Linked DNA regions of Homo sapiens: region 1 is linked to region 2. Evidence: promoter capture Hi-C in 16 types of primary human blood cells and fetal thymus (Javierre and others, 2016). All regions are on one chromosome and are shown on one strand. The core of a region is centred on a gene start or on the middle of the fragment in contact, and the rest is flanking DNA. Distances in the headings are between cores, read along the strand shown. Region 1 overlaps NUP88 (nucleoporin 88). Region 2 holds the start of PFN1 (profilin 1).

Evidence for each region. The method cuts DNA at HindIII sites, captures the fragments that hold promoters and counts their contacts. A CHiCAGO score of 5 or more calls a contact.
Region 1: a contact is called between a fragment that was not itself captured here and the fragment with the promoter of PFN1 in region 2, in 1 of 17 cell types (naive B cells). The highest score is 5.3, in naive B cells.

What each region holds. Positions count from the first base shown.
Region 1 is chr17:5,406,631-5,411,091 of GRCh38, reverse strand. NUP88 (nucleoporin 88) reads left to right here. Exons shown (of 17, transcript NM_002532.6): 4 at 303-389; 5 at 2,183-2,359. Among named protein-coding and RNA genes, the nearest start is that of NUP88, 11 kb to the left of the region's middle. The HindIII fragment of the contact is 236 bases long and covers 2,959-3,194 here.
Region 2 is chr17:4,945,597-4,950,133 of GRCh38, reverse strand. It overlaps PFN1 (profilin 1), which reads left to right and starts at 1,604. Exons shown (of 3, transcript NM_005022.4): 1 at 1,604-1,871; 2 at 3,314-3,506; 3 at 4,137-4,482. The coding sequence starts at 1,740. The coding sequence ends at 4,234. It also overlaps a transcript of ENO3 not described here. RefSeq lists silencers at 145-554, 1,015-1,264, 1,395-1,734, 2,005-2,074, 2,105-2,334 and 1 more and enhancers at 645-814, 3,695-3,774, 4,445-4,537. The HindIII fragment of the contact is 10,043 bases long and covers 1-3,945 here.

The DNA of each region.
Region 1 (4,461 bases), core at 1,827-4,326, 460 kb before region 2:
TGGACAAGGCGAGTATAGCTAAGGGCTCAGGACGGAAGTGACAGAGGTGCGATGTTATGGAATAGGCTGTTAAAGGGTATTGGTAAGGATAGAGAACATTTCTTCAGGCCCCAATGAAACTCCCTTATGTAGTTAAAGAATAAATGAACTAGACTACTTTGCAACAGCAAGATTTTTGCAAAGAAATAGTTGTGATAAGTGTTAGAAAATTCTCAAGAACTGACTAGATGGAGAGGAAAGTGCAGTTTTGGGAAATGAAAACAGAATTTTAAGTGCTGGTTTTCTTCTCTTTTGGTTGCTAGAATTTACTCACTACGTGAGCCGCAGACACCCACTAACGTGATAATACTTTCAGAAGCCGAAGAGGAAAGTCTAGTACTCAATAAAGGGTAAGTTTTTATTTGAGTCTTGAAATGGTTTTTTAATTAGCTTATTGGGATTATAAATGCAATTTTAACAGGTTGCAAGGTTTTTCAGAGGTGACTAGCATGCTTTTGGTAATGTGAGAAGTAAGTGTATTTTTAGTAGAACAGGGATTCGTCGTGTTGGCCAGGCTGGTCTGGAACTCCTAGGCTCAAGTGATCCTGCTCGTCTCAGCCTCCCCAAAGTGCTGGAATTACAGGCCTGAGCCACCATTCATTTCTTTATCACCTTTCTATGTGATAAAGAAACTAAGATAATATCTTGCATTGATGTTTGCTCTCTCAACTATATGAAATTGTGATTTCATTTTAACCATATTTGTTAACTTTGTATTGAACTAGAATCTTCCTGAATAACTACAGTAAATTTTAAATATAAAAACAGCATGGTTTTATGATTTGCCTTCTTGATATACATGTAATGTATATTTGCTGTAGAAAATTGAGAAAAATAGATCAAAGTATTAGGAAGAAAATGAAAATCTTTGTAATCTCCTATAGCTATAGCCTGTTTCAATACAGCACCCAAAGTTTAATCACATCATTCTACTTTAATCTAAGTTTAATCAGATCAGTTTAATCAGATCATTCTACTTCCCTGCTCTCCATACCCCATTGATTTCCCAGAGTCTTTACCTATAAAGGGTCCACAGGTATGCCACCTGATTGCCTTTCCAGCTTCATTCCTCCCTCTGTGCCCTGGCTCTCTGGGCTCCAGGCACCTTGGCCTCCTTGCCATTCCACAGACATTAAGCACTTCTACCTTAGAGCATTTGCTCTCCACCTCAACTGCTCCTTCCCTAGTTAACCACAGACTTGCTCTCTTACTTCCTTCAGATCTTTGCTCAAATATCTTATCAGAGTCTTTCCTATACCAAGTAGTCTAAAGTAGCACCTCCATCAATACCCTCTTACCCTACTTTATTTTTCATGATATTTTCTGAGTTTATGTTCCATCTTTATTTCTTCTCTTTTTGTGGTATTTCTCTCTCTAGAGGGCAGGACATTTGTTTAATTCACTGACATATTCCCAGACCCTAGAAAAGTACCTGGCACAGAGTAGGTGCTTTGCGAGTATTTGTAGAACTTACGGATCCTGCTGCTCAGAGACAACTGTTGATGTTTTCATGTGTTTTCCTGTTTCCTTTTTGCATTTATGTGTGTGTATATAATAAATTTTTGCTATTTGTATATCTGTGTATTTAAACTATTTAAGATGAGAGTAGAACCAAATAATTTTATGGCCAGCTTTTTTCACTTAATTTCATGAGAATTTTTTTTTTTTTTTTTTTTTTGAGACGGAGTTTCGCTCTTGTCGCCCAGGCTGGAGTGCAATGGCACAATCTCGGCTCACTGCAACCTCCGCCTCCCAGGTTCAAGCAATTCTCCTGCCTTAGCCTCCCAAGTAGCTGGGACTACAGGCACCTGCCACCACGCCCAACTAATTTTTGTATTTTTAGTAGAAACGGGGTTTCACCATGTTGGCCAGGCTGGTCTCGAACTCCTGACCTCAGGTGATCCACCCACCTCGGCCTCCCAAATTGCTGGGATTACAGGCATGAGCCACTGCACCCAGCTGAGAATTTTTAAATGTTAACATTCTTCATAATCATTTTTTGTCTTTTCAGTCCATTGCCTACAAATTCCATACATACCCACCTCCTGTTATTAGACATTTTGTGTTTTTGTTTTGTTTTGTTTTTCTTTTTACTTTTTGTTGTTTTTGTTTTTAACAAGTTGGTTTTTACATCTCTTTCCAGAAGGGCGTATACCGCATCTCTAGGAGAGACAGCAGTTGCATTTGACTTTGGGCCATTGGCAGCAGTCCCAAAGACTCTATTTGGACAAAACGGCAAAGATGAAGTAGTGGCATACCCACTGTACATCTTATATGAAAATGGAGAGACTTTCCTGACATACATCAGTCTGTTACACAGGTAAGTTGAGGTGGTCACCCACCTGAAATGAAAACTCAGTTTGGGCTCCAGTAGATATCATTGAGGCTGGACTTGGGAGCCATGTTTTTGAGTCTGTGGAAATGTTGCAGCCTTCACATGCTTGGCTTGCATATTTTTGAGAAAGAGTTAGTACAGGTCATTTGGCCTTTCATTTCTTCATATTATTTGGGTAAGTTCTATAGAATTCTTGGATAATCACTTATGATAGGCCTGGATTTGTGTTCACAAATTCTAGTTATCCGAACAAGTGCTTATTGTTTATCTTATATGAACAAGACACCACGTAGGCGTGGTAATCTGGTATCTTATGTCCCAGTTGTGGGGAGAAAGATACATACACATGAAAAAATACTATCCATACCACAGTATTGGTACACAGACAGTAAGAACCCCGAGGAAGGAGAGATCATTCTGACTGGGAGGTTAAGGAAATTTTCGTAGAGAAGGAGTGGTGTCATGTGTGACTTAAAGGTCTCATTCAGGATTAAATGAAGTATCAAGGAAGAGTGAGACCATTTCTGTCAAGGGCAGCATAAAGTAGCGTCTGAAAATAAGCAAGTGCAAGTGTCATTCAAGCTTAATTTATTAGACATTCTGGGCTAGAGCTGAGGATTCATGTAGGGAGCATTAAGTGATAAAGCTGGAGTATCTGTCCCGAGAAAATTTGCTGGAATTAAAAATACCTCGTTAAAAGAGTGAGTGTGGGTTTTTTTTCTGTAGGAATAGGGTAGTAGGAAGCCAGTGATGGTTTCTGAACAGAAGGACAAAACAATTGGTTAGGGAGGGGACTGGGACAGAGACTTTTAAAGAAGCTTTTGCAAAATTGAGCTTGTCATTTATGAGAGTTTGAACTTGGGTGGTAATAGAACAGAGGGAAAAATGAAACACAGTAGATAACAACAAAGGAAGGATAAATAAGACTTAGTTACTGTTTGGATAAGGGAGTATGCCATGAACAGAAACAGGTCAGTAAAGGCTGCTAATTGGGGGAGAAGATTTATTTCTAAGTAAATCAGTGTAAGATAGTATTGGACCAATAAAATGGAAATATTCCATGGACAGTTGGAAATACAGGATGATGACAGACAAGAAGAATTAAAATAGAGGTATGAGAATCATCTTTCATGGTGAGAGAGTCTATACAGGATAAGAATTTGAGGGAAAACTGCAGAGGCATAAGGCTAAGGGCTGAGCATTAGAGTTTATTCGCTTGTAAATCGACTTAACAGATACTTATTCAGGACCCACTCTGGCAGAAGATGGAAATACAAGATTGAAGGCAAGGTTCCTGCCATGTGGTTCCTTAACTACCAGAAGGGCATACAACTAAACCAGTAACTATAGTACAGTGTCATGTGCTCAGGGCATCACCGGGTTCTTCAGGAGTGTGATGGAGTAAATGAGTAGGCCTGCTCATCTTGGAAGACTTTAAGGAAATGCTATTACAAAAGCTTGAACTTGAAGGATTCACTAGACAGAATCAGAAGTGGGTACAGGAGAGAGAAGAGAGTACGCAAAACCATAAAGATTAGAAAGATGAAAGAGCTCGGTAGGTTACAGAATGGTGAGGATTCACTGTTGAGTGCATTCTCCTTGGCAGAAATGTTCTCTGCCTTTCACACATGATCTCAGGAGGATTTTGTGGTAACTTTAGTACCTTCCCTTACCCTTTCTCCTCTTGCTGCTGAGCCCTCATTTGTCCAAACCATGATCTGCCTAGTAACGTTAGCCCAAAACCCAAAAGTTTTCTTCATCCTTACATTTCATCAGTCCCAAATTTCTATTGATTTTGTGATTTAAATTTTTCGAAAGTATACACCAAGCTTGTCCAACCCACGGGCTGCGCGCAGCCCAGGACAGCCTTGAATGCAGCCCAACGCAAATTTGTAAACTTTCTTAGAACATTATGATATTTGTTTGCGATTTTCTTTTCTTTTCTTTTTTTTTTAAAGCTCATCACGTATTGTTAGTGTATTTTCTGTGTGGCCCAAAACAATTGTTCCAGTGTGGCCCAGGGAAGCCAAAAGATTGGACACCCCTGATTATACACCCTTCTCTGCATTCCTCTGTCCCTGCTTCAG
Region 2 (4,537 bases), core at 355-2,854:
GCCGGGGCAGCGCGCGCCCGGTGACTCACCCCCGCCGCCCTCTCCCCACCCCTGCTCCCCGCCCCGCCGGCCCGCGCGGCCTCCCAGCCCCCACCCCAGGCCACCTGCCCCGCCACCCGTCCAGTCTCCCCTCTCGCCCCGCCCCCTCATCTCAGGCCGCTCCTCCCGGGATTTTTCCACCCTGGGGTAGGGGTGCGGTGGGCCAGGGGTCAGGAGATGGCGGGCGGGGAGCGCCGCCACGTGCCCGGGTGCGGCCCCGCCCGAGCCCGCCAGTGACTCAGCCGCGCGGCTGTCGAGGAACACGGACTCGAGGGGCGTCGGGGACTGTGGGATTCGGCGTGGACGCCAGGGATGCGCGCCGCGCTCGGGAGGAGAGAGAAAACCAACCCCCTTTCCGCCCGGGCCGCGCTCGGTGACCCCTTGCCCCTAGCCCAGGCTCCGGAAGCCGCCCAGCCCTCGGCGGCGGGTCGGAGGAGGCGGTTTCACCGCGGCCGCCGCACGGCCGTCCCGCCCGTCCCGCCCTCCCCAGGTGGCTGTGAGCGCACATCTGACTGCGAAGAAACCCAAAGGGCCCGAAGTGGGACTTTCCCCTTCTTGAAAAAGTTGCCACTCTTGCAACTTGAGTATTCTTCCGCCTCGAAAAATAGCCCCGCCTGTTAAGCCCCGCGGGTGTCCGCGCTCTGTGACCTCTGCAGACACAGGCCAAGGGGCACGGCCGGTGATCCAGACATTGCCTGCCTGGGGCGGGCGGGGCTGGGATGTGGGGTGAGGCCCTGGGCTAGAGCCGATCCAGAGAAGGGACAATCCTCTAGACTGAGAATGGGCCCTGGTGAACCCAACCTGCACGACCCGAGAAGACGCTGGGGACAGAAGTGGCCCCGGTGGGTGCCTTCAGCTATGAGAGCGACTAGAGGATTTGGCCAAACTCTTCTTTGCTTTCTTATTACTTGAATAAGTAAAATCAAGGGTGGTGAGGCGGCAGCGCGCACGGCTTCGCCCCCGCCCCTTCCGCCAGGCGGGAGACACGTCCCCAGCCCGCCTTCCTTTCCCGCAGGGTCCACACGGGTCGGGCCGGGCGCGCTCCCGTGCAGCCGGCTCCGGCCCCGACCGCCCCATGCACTCCCGGCCCCGGCGCAGGCGCAGGCGCGGGCACACGCGCCGCCGCCCGCCGGTCCTTCCCTTCGGCGGAGGTGGGGGAAGGAGGAGTCATCCCGTTTAACCCTGGGCTCCCCGAACTCTCCTTAATTTGCTAAATTTGCAGCTTGCTAATTCCTCCTGCTTTCTCCTTCCTTCCTTCTTCTGGCTCACTCCCTGCCCCGATACCAAAGTCTGGTTTATATTCAGTGCAAATTGGAGCAAACCCTACCCTTCACCTCTCTCCCGCCACCCCCCATCCTTCTGCATTGCTTTCCATCGAACTCTGCAAATTTTGCAATAGGGGGAGGGATTTTTAAAATTGCATTTGCAAAGTTCGGTGTCTGGGCTGGCGAGTGGGGGAGGGAGGGAATGGGGAGTAGGCCCCGCCCCTACCGTCCTTTGCAAATAAAAATCTAGCGGGGCGGGGGGGGGGAGGAGCAGGAAGTGGCGGTGCGAGGGCTGCTGCACAGCGAGCGGAGCCGCGGTCCGGACGGCAGCGCGTGCCCCGAGCTCTCCGCCTCCCCCCGCCCGCCAGCCGAGGCAGCTCGAGCCCAGTCCGCGGCCCCAGCAGCAGCGCCGAGAGCAGCCCCAGTAGCAGCGCCATGGCCGGGTGGAACGCCTACATCGACAACCTCATGGCGGACGGGACCTGTCAGGACGCGGCCATCGTGGGCTACAAGGACTCGCCCTCCGTCTGGGCCGCCGTCCCCGGGAAAACGTTCGTCAACATCACGGTACTGCGAGGCCTGCGCGGTCCGGGGCACTGCTCCGGTTTGGACCCTGAGGGAGGGACTTGGGTGGGGGCGGGCGCGGTCTAGGGCGCGCAGCGAGAGGCCCTGACTGGGTGCTTGCCCTGGAAGCGGCGCGAATGGCGGCTGCACGTGAGTGGGTCCCTCAGTTGCCCGTAGGTCCTATGCCCCAGGCGGCGGCGCCCATCCCGCCCGCTACCCCGCTTTCCGCGACGGGGCGTTACATCCGGGGCACAGGGCGGGGAGGGGCGCGGCGCCCGGTGCGGCGGCCCACTTCCGCCTCTCCCAGGGCGGGGCGGGGACGCGCCTCAGTTTTTACTGGGGATTGGGATTGAGAGGGGACCCGGGGATCCTTGGACCCCCAGCTCCCCGTCCGGCTGCCAGCCCGCGTCCCTCTACCATTGTTTCTCCTGGTGCGGAAGGGAGCCCCAGGCGCGTGGTCTTGGTCCCTTGCCCACCCTCTGTGGGCTTCTGGCCCCTCCTAACTCCGTTAGAGAGGGCGAGGCCACCACACGCCCCCCCAGCTCAGCACGTTGGATTCAACATTCCTGCGAGGCCAATCCCGGAAGTCCCCTCGCCCTCCCTTCCCGCCATCCGGCGGGGCCTGGAGCAGGGGAACTTTGTGAGAAGTTCTGAGACAGCATAAGCGAAAGTATATTGGTTTACTACCGCTGCTCCCACCACCATCTCCCTGTCCACACTGCCCGGAAGTGGGGAGGGGGAGCGGAAGTTCAAAAGGGGGGGGAAGGGGGTTTCCGGGCGGGAGGGGACCGGATGTGGGGGCTTGGGGTGAAAGGGGGAGGGGGGAAAGGTTCCCGGGGTACCTAGACCCGAGAGCTGGCCTGCCGGGTCTGGCCCCTGTCCACCTTCAAAAGTTTTCCAACTTTCCCGGAAAGCCCCCAGGGGTCTGCTTCCTCATCTCAGAGCAGAGATACCTGGAGCTAAACTCTAGGTTACTTGGAGACCCAGGCGTCCGGGCCCTAACAGCTCCTGCAGAACCTTTGACCAAATAAGGGCAAAGTTGCTTCTCTTGCCTCGCCCGCCCCCCTCCCTTCCCCTCTCCGCTTCTGCTTTTCCTGAAGGAGAGTTCTGAGCATCCAAAGGCTCCTCACTTACCTCACTGACTCCCTTTATTTCCTGGGTTTACTTTCCCCATTAACACTGACATCTAAATCTCTAGAGGAGTATGTCATCCCTTCCTCCCTGGTTCCATATTCTAAGTTTCAGAATCATGATCTTTTTCTGCACTAACGTCCCACAGTCCTCAGAGTTTCTCACAGTTCATTGATGTGTACTGAGTATATAATTTATACTTAGCCCCCACGGCGGGGTGGTTCTCAGAAGTGGAAGACAGGTGGGTCTTTGGAGAACACGGTGGGAATCTTGGTGCACTGACTAACTTGATGGGCGCTTGGTTCCTCTTCCAGCCAGCTGAGGTGGGTGTCCTGGTTGGCAAAGACCGGTCAAGTTTTTACGTGAATGGGCTGACACTTGGGGGCCAGAAATGTTCGGTGATCCGGGACTCACTGCTGCAGGATGGGGAATTTAGCATGGATCTTCGTACCAAGAGCACCGGTGGGGCCCCCACCTTCAATGTCACTGTCACCAAGACTGACAAGAGTGAGTTCCTGAGTCTTACCCTTCCTTTAGCTCCAAGATCTCTAATGTACCGCCTTCTGGTAATCTTGAGGGTGCTTTTTTGTGTGATTCCCCAACATGAAGGGAGTCAGACCAGTATTGTGTTCCTTGTCTGCTGGATGCTGGAACACGGGATAGTCCCTCCATTCTGTCTCAGTTCCTCATCTTGTAATTCGAAGTTGCTGAACTGCATTACCTCTTAAATTACTTACTGCCTTGAGCTCGGATTAGAAACTGTTTTCTAGGAGTATAGGTAGATTGTTGGGGTCTTGAATCATCGAGTTCATCGTTTGAGTTCTTTTGTTAGAACCTGGAGGTGGCATGCACATCCACAGCCCTTTCTAGCCTGAACACATGAATCAACAGTCTATGAGCCTTTGACCCCTAAGTTTTTAGTCTGTTCCTCTCCAGCGTTTAAGCTTGATTTTCCTCTTTTGAAAAGCCTTATTGTTTCAGGGTGACTGACAGCCTGCCTGTGTGTGGTGGGGGGGCGGGTTGGGAGAGATGAGGTTGGGTTACAGCCCCCAGGGCTGGACAGCTGCTGAACAGCTGGCAGGGGGTGGAATTGTGACACCTGGATCCTAGCCTCCTTTCTCTTTCCTCCTCCTCCAGCGCTAGTCCTGCTGATGGGCAAAGAAGGTGTCCACGGTGGTTTGATCAACAAGAAATGTTATGAAATGGCCTCCCACCTTCGGCGTTCCCAGTACTGACCTCGTCTGTCCCTTCCCCTTCACCGCTCCCCACAGCTTTGCACCCCTTTCCTCCCCATACACACACAAACCATTTTATTTTTTGGGCCATTACCCCATACCCCTTATTGCTGCCAAAACCACATGGGCTGGGGGCCAGGGCTGGATGGACAGACACCTCCCCCTACCCATATCCCTCCCGTGTGTGGTTGGAAAACTTTTGTTTTTTGGGGTTTTTTTTTTCTGAATAAAAAAGATTCTACTAACAAGGTGCTGTGTGATTTGAGCTTGGGTGTCAGAATGGGGGATAGGCACTGTGACTTG